Regions from separate parts of the Homo sapiens genome. Here regions 1 and 3 are each linked to region 2. The links are contacts of gene promoters, found by promoter capture Hi-C in blood cells and fetal thymus (Javierre and others, 2016). All regions are on one chromosome and are shown on one strand. The core of a region is centred on a gene start or on the middle of the fragment in contact, and the rest is flanking DNA. Distances in the headings are between cores, read along the strand shown. Region 1 holds the start of LOC101927405 (a long non-coding RNA gene). Region 2 holds the start of PREP (prolyl endopeptidase). Region 3 holds the start of MTRES1 (mitochondrial transcription rescue factor 1).

The links. Contacts are between HindIII fragments. The CHiCAGO score rates a contact against its expected background, and 5 or more counts as called.
Region 1: a contact is called between a fragment that was not itself captured here and the fragment with the promoter of PREP in region 2, in 1 of 17 cell types (activated CD4 T cells). The highest score is 5.1, in activated CD4 T cells.
Region 3: a contact is called between the fragment with the promoter of MTRES1 here and the fragment with the promoter of PREP in region 2, in 1 of 17 cell types (activated CD4 T cells). The highest score is 5.1, in activated CD4 T cells.

What each region holds. Positions count from the first base shown.
Region 1 is chr6:106,499,990-106,503,812 of GRCh38, forward strand. The region is part of intron 2 of CRYBG1 (crystallin beta-gamma domain containing 1); the gene reads left to right. LOC101927405 (a long non-coding RNA gene) reads right to left here and starts at 2,232. Exons shown (of 3, transcript XR_245566.4): 1 at 1,926-2,232; 2 at 927-1,025. The HindIII fragment of the contact is 2,704 bases long and covers 1,132-3,823 here.
Region 2 is chr6:105,401,494-105,405,195 of GRCh38, forward strand. PREP (prolyl endopeptidase) reads right to left here and starts at 1,589. Exons shown (of 15, transcript NM_002726.5): 1 at 1,354-1,589. The coding sequence starts at 1,398. RefSeq lists a silencer at 1,297-1,866. The HindIII fragment of the contact is 7,847 bases long and covers 1-3,702 here.
Region 3 is chr6:107,025,615-107,029,480 of GRCh38, forward strand. It overlaps MTRES1 (mitochondrial transcription rescue factor 1), which reads left to right and starts at 2,585. Exons shown (of 4, transcript NM_016487.5): 1 at 2,585-2,657. RefSeq lists a silencer at 2,404-2,873 and enhancers at 2,984-3,093, 3,204-3,303. The HindIII fragment of the contact is 13,635 bases long and covers 1-3,866 here.

The DNA of each region.
Region 1 (3,823 bases), core at 1,234-3,733, 1.1 Mb after region 2:
GACAGAATTTCCTTCTTTTTTAAGGCTGAATTATAGTCCACTGTGCATATATACCCCATTTGCTTTATCCATTCATCCACTGGTGGACACTTAGGTTGATTCCATATCTTGGCTATTGTGAATAATGCTGCAATGAACACAGGGGGCCAGATATCTCTTCAACATACTGATTTCATTTCTTTTGGGTATGTACCCAGAAGCAGGATTGCTGGCAGTTCTATTTTTGTTTTATTGAGGAACCTCCACACTATTTTCCATAATGGCTATACTAATTTATATTCCCACCAACAGTGTATAAGAATTCCCATTCTCCACATCCTCATCAACACTTATCTTTCACCTTTTTGATCACAGCCATTCTAACAGGTGTGAAGTGATAGTTCATTATAATTTTCATTTTCATTTCCCTGATGAACAGTGATGTTGAGCACTAAAAAAAAAAACAAAAAAAAAAACCTCTTGGCTATTTGCATGTCTTCTTTTATGAAATGCCAGTTCAGATCCTTTTTCCATTTTTTAAATCAGATTGTTTTTGCTGTTGAGATGTCTGAATTCCTTGTATATTTTGGATATTAATCCCTTATCCAATGTATGATTTGCACATATTTTCTCCCAATCTATAGATTTTCTCTTTACTCTTTTGTTTCCCTTCCTGTGCAGAAGCTTTTTAGTTTGATACAATCCCATTTGTCTACTTTGTGCTTTTATTGCCTGTGCTTTTGGGTCAAATATGTATTTATTTCATGGTTTTCTTTTCCATTTCCCTTCTCTTCCCCAGAGATTGTATTGGGCATTTTACAAACATTTCAGTTTATCCTTAAAATAATCCAGAGGAGGAATATTTTAGAAACTAGATTTTGGGGAGTCATTTGAGAAAGAGAATAAGGCTAGAGACAGGCCTTTGTTTCTATCTGAAAGTTGCTTACTCAGGTTCGGTGATAGGTGATTGCCCCAAACCACTGTCCATTCCATGATACACTGTTGTCTGACTCTTGATTGTTGATAGGCTGGAGGATAAAGGATTTCTGGAAAATATGTACATTTGGTAAATATTTAAGTGCCTATTGGTACCAAGCATTGATGAAGAGGTAGGGACACAGGTGAACAAAATAACGTTCTTGTTCCTCACGAAGCTTATGTTCTGTAAGCAGACACAGCAATAAAGAAATATACAAATATATATGCAATATGGTTCAGGTAATGTTAAGTGCTATGAAGAAAAATAAAGGAGAATAGATCATAGAAAGTGAGGGTGCTGTTTTACATAGGGTGATTCAAAAGTGTTCACCCTGCATAGTTTGCATATCCTCCATACCTTATGAGCTGCAAAAAAGAGATTAAAAAAAGAGTAGGCTTATATTGTTTTCTTTATTCTAGCCATGACACATTAAAGATGAGTGCTCATGAGCAATGATATGCCAAGTTCTGCAGACAAATTAGCTCTGTTAGAAACTACATCTGATAAAGCTGTTATTTTCATCTCCTTCTCACCAGTTGAGAACCATAAATTCATTGTGTTACTTACTTAGTTTCTATAATTTTAACTTGAGCAAAACATCAGCAAAATATCGCACTGTTAATAAAGCCAGCCATCACTGTCATAGGCTACTTTGTGCTTTTCAAAAGATGTTCACATGTATCATTTCACATGAATTTCTCAGTACCCTGTATGATAGATGTGCAACTTTTGAGAGAATAAGTGATTTGATCCCATTTAGTAGTATTCCTGAGTTCTGATCATAGAAGTGTGAAATCTACTTCTTAATTTGCAAAGTGTTGGTAGAAAGTCAACAATTCTCACTAGAAACTACAGGAAACTAAGACATTTCTGGGCAGTGTATATTAATTGGAAAGATAAAGATTGTTCCATTTTCTAGAAATAAATCCACTATTAAATCCACACTTACAAACATGGCTAAACTGACCTGAAGTTATGAGGTCTCAAGGTCACTAGAAGTCTCAGAGCCAGCCTAGCTAGAGTCCGTGCTGTGTTGGAGAGGCTTGTCTGTTCCTCTTCTCCAGCTCTCATTTCTCTTCTGGGTCCCAGTCAGCCCCAGGGCCTCTGACTTGGCTGTAGCTGTGCCTGGTCGGGGCAGGCAGGCTGTGTTAGTTGTCTCCAAGGGCCGCTTCACCCTCTTTCCCCCAACTTAATCACCATCTCCTGCATCATATCATTTATACATGGATGACCCAACTGAAGTTTAGTCCTTGGTTCTTTAGTACTTAGATTCTGAGACTCACCAGTGGCTTTTAAGTGCTTTAAAGTAACCATTCTTGATCTTTGACATGAATTATTGCACAAGTCATTCTTTTTAAATTGCATAAGGAATGTACTTTCTGGGTTACAAGTTAATAAAAAGGAACTGATTTGATGACTTCACAAGGAACACATTTCCATTTTCCAGTTTGGCTAAATTTTAGTTAGGAACTAACTTGTCAGTAATTTGATTATGTTAATCAGGATATGCATATAATCCAGGAGGTAGAATAAGAAATACTTTTGCTATAAATTTCAAACTACTCTATCTCCTTTTAATTACACATTATGCATAAGAAAAAAAATCGCCGAATTAGGATAATACATCTCAACTGTAAAGCAAATTAATTCAGCCGGATAGCTTTGTGAGAAAAAGAGAATGTTGGGGAGACTATTCAAAGTACAGGTAGAGAAACCTTCTGGGGTACTTGTTAGTCATAATTAGGCACACAGTAGAATTAGTCAGGATCCCAGCACAGGAAACATATAGCACACTCAAGTTGTGTAATTAAGGAAAGTAGTGAAGGACTATTTACAAAGTGTGGGCGAGGTTTTAAGGAAGCCAAGAAGGGCTAAAAAAAACCTTAGGCTTCAGGGTTCTTCTTTCACATGGCCTCTTCCAAGGCCCTCTCCTTAAAATCTATAAGCCAGAATTTTGTGTTCTTTGTCTTAAAGAAAACTCTCAAAATAACATATGCCTCATGCCCCACAAAACTTCATTCTACCTCAAGCAATAGCTAATGAAGCCTTCCCATCTGGCACCTGGTGAGGTCCTTTCCCATCTTAGGCCTGAAGGAGCAAGAGGGGAAAGCGGCTCGGGAATATGGGGAGAGAGAACAGCGGCGGAAGTGGGCTGCCTGGCAGAAGCCCTGGTCACACCCAGCCACACCCAACCCAGAGCCCAACTAAGAGATGGAGAGATTAGGGGGGAAATCAGGGCCTCCCACTGGCTGAACCTAACCAAATCCTAAGGACAAGAAAGTCAGTTTCTACCTTCCATCATAACTGGGAGCCTGGGGCGCAGACAAGGCTGAGGGAGGGTGAGCCTACGGAAAGATCCAGCACACTCTATCTACAATTACCTGGATTCTAAAGACAGAGCTCCATCACAAGAGAGGGCTCATTGGCTGTTTATGCTATCACATCCATTGCTGTACTGCATGGCCTAGGAGAAAGCATGTAAGCCATGCCTTCATAAAAGTGACACATTAATCATTCTAGTAAAGTCTTATTTTTCTAATGATACATTATAATTTCTAACAAGAAAAAATACTGAGCTACCTTTTAGAAAGCCTGACTTATGTCTTAGAAAAAATAATTCGATTCTACAGGCCACAGGTTGCCTCTTTAAGGTGCGGAGAAAATTCTGGCACAACGTAGACACTCAATAATTATCAGTGGAATGAATGAGTAAATGATCCTACAATTCAGACATTCCATGATCTTATCTTTTATCTTCCTTTCTGATTGATCATGTGTCGATGGCTTGAAACAATTAGGTTTCACTTTGTCTCTGTCAAAGTATAAATGACTTAAAGACAATACCAACCCGAAACTGGGAGTCTG
Region 2 (3,702 bases), core at 339-2,838:
AGAGCTGCTAAAAGTCACCTAACTAGTGAATGACAGAACCAGAACTAGCGCTCTGGTCTTTTCATTTAGTCCAGCCTCTTTCTCCATTCCAGCAGGATCACTTTACTCCCATATTCAAAGGAAACAACCTTTAAACCACAGGAATAGAGCTTCTTGAGCTGTTAGGGTAAATTTAATAAGCAAGCAGCTGAGCAGACTGAGAAAACATGGTTACCAGATGGCCACTGGTCAAAGAAACCATGAATGAATGCATCAGTGTCACTTGGAAGTCTTAATTTAAAACAGTATGTCCTTTACTCCGAAGCGTCAGCACCCTTTACCCCAATGTAGCACGTGCTTTAAAGTAAACACTTTCTGGCATAAATTGGGAAAGTAAACAGAAAAACATTAAAACTGTATCACACAAATACATACTTATTCTGATTATATTTTAAGTAATCTGAGAAATGTAGCTATTAGTAAGAGAATCACGGCCACAACATGTGGATGCAATCCAGTTCCTAAGTCGTCAAATTCACGTTTACACAAAAAAGGTGTCTGCCCAGAATTCCGCCTACTGGATCTCAACAGTTACCTTGAGTTCATCTGCAGCTTAGGCAAATGGTGGTCAACTCCGCCACTAGACAAAACTTACTCATTCTGAAAAAGGTCAACCCCTCTCCCTTCTAAGACCTCCTCTCACCCTCTCTCAACTCCTTTTCTTGTTTAAGAAAACATGGATCAGCACGGCCACACTATGGGGTCACTGCTCCGCCTTCCCCATTTCTGTCCGGGTCTCTGGCATCCCCAGGGCCCAGTGCGCCTCATCCGACCTGGGACAGGGTAGGCGCTCAACACACCTTTTAAAATCGAACGAATATGCTTCAACTCTAAGGACTTTAAAGTGTAAGTTTTAAAAGTTTGTTTTCGTTTTTAAATGTGACATCACACACACACACACACACACACACACACAAACACACACACACACCCCAGCGGACACTTTCTCCTACCACCATATTTAAGCAAGAGGCTTCGCCAGTCAAAAAAGCAGTGACACCGTCTGTCTTCCCACTCCCTGAAGACACCCATTCTACCCGGGCGTCTGCCCTTGACCCCATTGATTCTAGGAAGCGGCCGGGCGGCGCTGCCCACAGGCTCCGCCGCCAGCACTAGCAGAGTGACCGCCCGCGGGACCCCAGCGCTGCAGAGGAGCCCCGCGCCCCCGGCCCAATTCTCCCAAACAAAGGCCGAGGGGGAGGGGAGGGACGCGGGGGTCGAAGGCCTACAGGAAGAGGAGCTGCGGGTGCCACGGGTCAGGCAGGCTGGGCACCTTTGCCCGGGAGCCCTCTGGGCGGAGGCAGAGATACTTACGGCGGTCTCGTCGCGGTACACGTCGGGGTACTGAAGGGACAGCATGGCCGGGGACAGGCAGGGGGCAGCGTGGAGGGGCGCGGGCTCCGGGAGCGGACCTGAGCTAGCCGGGCTGGCCGCGAGGCGCGGCTGGGGCGCAGGCAGCTGCGGGGCGGCCGGCGGCAGCGGGCGGCCGGCTCACGGCCAGAGCTAGCACAAACGGACTGGCGGCGCGGCGGCGAGGACGTGCAGAAAGCAGGAAGCCGCTGTCTGCGAGGCCGGGAGCCCCTCCCCGGCGGGCGGGCCCAGCGGCGGCGGCGGCGGCAAGAGGGAGCGGGCGGCACCGAGCGTGCGCTAAGGCCGGCGCACAGCTCCCTCTGCAGGATCGCCGGCCGCGCCCGCGCCGCCCGGGCGCACGGAGGAGCACGCCGGCTACGCGCTCGCCCACGCCCGGCCGCCCGCCCGTCCTCTGCGCCGGGGACAAGTCCTTCCACCGAGGCCGGGTCCCCGCGCCTTCCCTAGCGCCCTGCCTCTCTTTGGCCGCGCTCGCAGGACCGCCTGTAGGAGAGTGAAGCCCCAGGGTTTCCTTGCTGATGGAGTCCCCCACCTTCCCCAGCCTTCCTGTTCCCGGGCTGGTTACGGCGGCGAAGGGAGACCTTGCCTCTCCCCAGCCTTGGAAGCAGAGGGCTGGAGGTGGCCTTATGTCCACTGCCTGCGACTCTGGACTTGAAGGGAAGAAGTAATCGATCATGATGACCGTGAAAGAAACACGTCTCCCTTCATCCCAGGACCCCTGGTGGACACTGGGTGGTTTAGCATCCGGACTATGGAGATGCTTTGGAGGTGTTGGCAGGACTACGGTTGAGCCCTTATTTGATATTTACCGATTGAGAAAGAACCAAGATTAAGAGGCCTGGAACTCATCAGGGGTATTTTATTTATCCTGCCTTTTCCTCATTTCCTCTCCTGCTGTCATGCTTGTTTATTGAGCACCTACTGTTTATGGGAAGAAAAGATAATAGACAAGATACTTGACCTCAAACCCATGAAAATTTAATAGTTACATGTCATCATCCTCGGGCCAGCAGCGGTATGTGTTCTGGTCTTGCTTCCTGGACCACCCAGAAGAGACTTTATAGCCCCAGCCATCAGGGGTATAGTGTGTGCCCAGTGTGTTTTCTATCCCTGGCTTCCAAAAAGTCCTGGAAGAAAGAATAGGTGTGACCAGAAAGTCCTTCACCTCCGGAATCTAAGTGGATATGGTAACTATTATAAACTTGTGTCCTCCGTCTCTTTTGTGATATGGTCCCAATTCCATGCCTCACCCTTAGTTCACCATTTCTGTTCATAGTGATGTGTCATAATCATTTTCTGCATCTGATCCCAGATACCCCCTCCTGGGGCAATCTGAGAATCCTCAATTCTGGGAGAACTCACGCTATTGATAACAAACTTTGTGCAAACACGGGGGCATAGCCCACTACAGCCCAGAAGTCCCAATTCCAGTTCCCACCTCGTGCCTTCCCTGGCTGTCACCTGACGCAGGGACTGGCAGGCATTGTCTCCTCCTTCTGCCACTGTGAGGGATTTTTTAAAGAGCAACCCAGGAGCACTTGACCCAGCAGACCCCCTAATGATAATATTAATGCTTATGGAGTGTTTTTTTCAGTGTATCAGGAAACTATCTAGAACTAATGTCCCTATTTTATAGTTAAGGAAAACGGGCTGACTTTTGCCCAGGACTTCACAAAAAGTGAAAAAGTAGAGCCAGGATTCCAACCTAGGTCTCTCCAATACCAATGCTCATTCTTAACCACTCTGACGGCCTTCCTACTCATAAATAAGTAGAGATACTCTAGAGTCTACAGGGCACCCATTTGCAGGGAAAACTTCAATTTAGCAGGACCTAAAGAAAATGTGGGAATTGTGGTACCCAAAGGACAAATCAAACCTAGGTATCATCCTCTCTTCCCTTTCAGTCAGCCGTTCTGGTGCCCAGTTCCTCTGGGCCCTGAGAGGTAAAGGTTTGTAGTGGCACAGACAGTGCAAGAGGCTCCCAGCAGTAGGTTGTCTGCATCTGGAGTGAGATGGAGTGGGAGGGAAGATGGGAGAGCACCCTTTCCCCTCCTATTGACCACGTTAGTTGCACTTTTGTTTGCCAATGTGTTGTCTCCTTTAATCCTTATAGCAAAGACCATTTTACAGATGAGGAAAAAGAATCTCAGCAGCTTTAAGGGAATGAGTTCAAAGTCATCACACAGCTAAGACAATACAAGATTCATATTCATAAGTTGACTGCAAAGTCAACTTTTTCCATAGACAATGCAGAGAAAGGAAGTATTTGAACTATCTCAGAATGGAAGTGCCACC
Region 3 (3,866 bases), core at 1,335-3,834, 1.6 Mb after region 2:
TAACATAAGGTGGGTAGCCTGGGATGGTTTTGGGTTTTTGGTTTTTTGTTTGTTTGTTTGTTTGTTTGTTTGAGATGGAGTCTCGCTCTGTCACCCAGGCTGGAGTGCAGTGGCGCGATCTCGGCTCAATGCAACCTCCGCCTCCCAGGTTCAAGTTATTCTCCTGCCTCAGCCTCCTGAGTAGCTGGGATTACAGGCGCACACCACCACGCCCGGCTAATTTTTGTATTTTTAGTAGAGAAAGGGTTTCACTATGTTGGTCAGGCGGGTCTCAAACTCATGACCTCATGATCTGCCCGCCTCGGCCTCCCAAGGTGTTGGAGTTACAGGTATAAGCCACCGCGCCCAGCCCAGGAGGATTTTAAGTAATGACAGGATTTGATTTGTGATTTAATAGGATCACTCTGGTTATTGTCCTGAGGATAGCCTGAAGAAAGGTAAGCCGCCAGGCGTGGTGGCTCACACCTATAATCCCAGAACTTTGGGAGGCTGAGGCGGTGGATGACCTGAGGTCAGGAGTTTGAGACCAGCCTGACCAACATGGTAAAACCCCATCTCTACTAAAAATACAAAAATTAGCTAGGTGTGGTGGTGCACGCCTCTAATCCCAGGTGAGACAGAAAGGGAGAAATTGAGTGTATCTCTAAGATATCTGACCTAAGTAACAGGAAGGGTGGAAGACTCATTAACTGAAATAAGGAATGCTGTGGGAGGAACGCATTGAGACCCGGATCTGGGTTTTGGTCCTATCAAGTTTGAGATTTCCGTTAGATTTCCAAGTGAAGATGTTAAGTAGGCAGTTGTAGTCTTGAATGCAAGAGAATGATCTCGGCTCGCAATACAAATTTGAGGATCGTCCATATATAGATAATATTTAAAGCCACGAAATTGTTGGAGATCGACTGGGGAACTAGGATAGATAAAAAGGAAAAAGATTAGAGGTCTAAGTATGGGGCACTTACTCTTTGGCATTCTAAGGATGTAATGAAAAAACAGCTGGCTGGGAGTGGTGGCTCATGCCTGTAATCCCAGCACTTTGAGATGCCAAGGCAGGTGGATCACTTGAGGTCAGGAGTTTGAGACAAGCCTGGCCAATATTGGTGAAACCCTGTCTCTATTAAAACTACAAAAATTAGCCGGGCATGGTGGTGCGTACCTGTAGTCCCAACTACTAAGGAGGCTGAGGCAGGAGAATCGCTTGAACCCGAGAGTGAAGGTTGCAGTGAGCAGAGATCATGCCATTGCACACCAGCCTGGGGGCCAGAGCAGGCCTCATTCTCAAAAACAAAAAAACAAAACAAAACAAAAGAAAAAACAGGGAAGAAGATTAAGTGGCAAGTGAGGTAGGTGAAACCAATGGGGTATCCTATAACTCAAGTAAGTTGAGGAATGAGACCAGACCTTTGGATTTACATTGCAGAGGTCATCTGTGACTTTGACTAGAAGTTTTGTTAGAATGTTGCAGGGTGACATCTTGTTTGGTGTATGAGTCAGAGTTCTCCACAGACAGACCTAATGAGAGAGGGATGGATGGATGGATGGATGGATGGATGGACGAATGGATGGATAGTTGGTTGGGAGGGAAAGGGGAATTGGCTCACGTGTAAATTGCGTTGGTCTTGAAAAGATGTTTCCTTAAACTGCGAGTCTGACGTATTTGCACATTTTTCTGGAAACAACGCCTATATCTCTTGGAGATGTTCAAAGAGGGCGGGCTCGGTGGCTTACACCTGTAATCCCAGCACTTTAAGAGGCTGAGGCTGGAAGATCGCTTCTCTTGAGTCCCAGCCTGGGCAATATGGCGAAACCCCATCTCTACAAACAAAACAAAACAAAACAAAAATTAGCAGGCCGTGGTGGCACACACCTGGAGTCCCAGGTACTGGGGAGGCTGAGGTGGGGAGAACAGCTTGAGCCTGGGTAGCAGAGGTTGCAGTGAGCCGAGATCGCACCATTGCACTCCGGGCAACAGAGTGAGACCCTGTCAAAAAAAAAAATGTTCAAAGGGGTTAGTGGTCCCAGAGAAAGGATCACTTCATTAATAATTAAGATGATTAGCCGGTCATGGTGGCTCACGCCTGTAGTCCCAGCTACTTAGGAGACTGAGGAACGACAATCGCTTGAACCCGGGAGGCGGAGGTCGCAGTGAGCTGAGATTACGCCGCTGCACTCCAGCCTGGGCAAGAGTGAGACTCGGTTTCAAAAAAAAAAAAAAAAGAAAAAAGAATTAAGATGGCCGGGCGCGGTGGCTCACGCCTGTAATCCCAGCACTTTGGGAGGCCGAGGAGAGCGGATCACGAGGGCGGGAGATCGAGACCATCCTGGCTAAAACGGTGAAACCCTGTCTCTGCTAAAAACACAAAAAAATTAGCCGGGCGTGGTGGTGGGCGCCTGTAGTCCCAGCTACTCAGGAGGCTGAGGCAGGAGAATGGCGTGAACCCGGGAGAATGGTGTGCCCCGAGCCTACTTCCCGCGCAGTCCTCCAAGACGCGGCCTCCAGCAGGGGTCGCTGCTTCGCTGCCGCCCTGGCCTCGCGCCCCGCCCGACCCGCTCTCACTGCGCCGGCGCCGGCGGAAGGGGCGGGGCGCAGATAGGGGTAGCCTGGAGGCCTGCAGTCCGCGCGGCCGCGGGGAGGGACGAGAGGGCCTGACGTACAGGTGAGTGCGCCTCTGCTGGCGCGCCGCGCCGGGCCCCCTGCCCGCGCCCCCTGTCACTTCGCCTCTCCGCCCCGCCCACGCTCCCGCCGGGTCTCCCCGTGAGTGTCCCGTGTCCTGCCAGCCTCGGGACGCCCCGCGAGCTCAGGGCTGCGCAGGGACTGTGGTAATTGAGCGCGGCGAAGCCTTCCGTTCCTGCCTCCTGTCGCTCCTGCTGGCTCCGAATGCAGACTGCGAACCCGGGGACGCAGTTGTCCATTTCCTTTGACCTTGGGGACCCAGGAAGGTGCACTGCCCGCGGGGGTGGGGAGGGAGCGAGAGGAATCCGACCCTGTCTCAGCCCACAGCCTCCGAGGTCTCCAAGTAAAGGGAAGGATCTTTAGCTGCATTAGACTTCAAAGCGTTTAGACCAGTTTCTCCATCTTACGGAGCGGTGAACGGGCTCAGGAATGTGGAGCGTTTCCTGGCGTCAAGCAGGTCAAAGTCAGCGCTGCTTTTTTTACAGACACTGCTTTTCTTACAGTCTTCGGTTAGTTCAGATTGTATACCTCTCCTGAAGATGTCACCCAAAACCTCCTATGGGATTCTGCCGTGATCATCTCTCCACTCATCCCACACCAACGCCAAAGAGATCTTTTAAAATGAACTTCCATCAGGTCACTTCCCAGGGTCCATCATTGCGTGTTCTTTTCCTGATTCATTCGAATGCACCCGTCCTCCTGATCAATTTTTATTCCACAGGGTGTTGTTTTGTTTTGTTTTGTTTTGTTTTTTTGAGACGGAGTCTTGCTCTGTCGCCCAGGCTGGAGTGCAATGGCGGGATCTCGGCTCACTGCAAGCTCCGCCTCCCAGGTTCACGCCATTCTCCTGCCTCAGCCTCCCCAGCAGCTGGGACTACAGGCGCACACCGCCACACCCGGCTATTTTTTTTTTTTTTGAGACGCAGTCTCGCTCTGTCGCCCAGGCTGGAGTGCAGTGGCGCGATCTCTGCTCACTGCAAGCTCCGCCTCCCGGGTTCACGCCATTCTCCCGCCTCAGCCTCCCGAGTAGCTGGGACTACAGGCGCCTGCCACCACGCCCGGCTAATTTTTTGTATTTTTAGTAGAGACGGGGTTTCACCGTGTTAGCCAGGATGGTCTCGATTTCCTGACTTCCTGATCCGCACGCCTAAGCCTCCGACAGTGCTGGGATTACAGGCGTGAGCCACCGCGC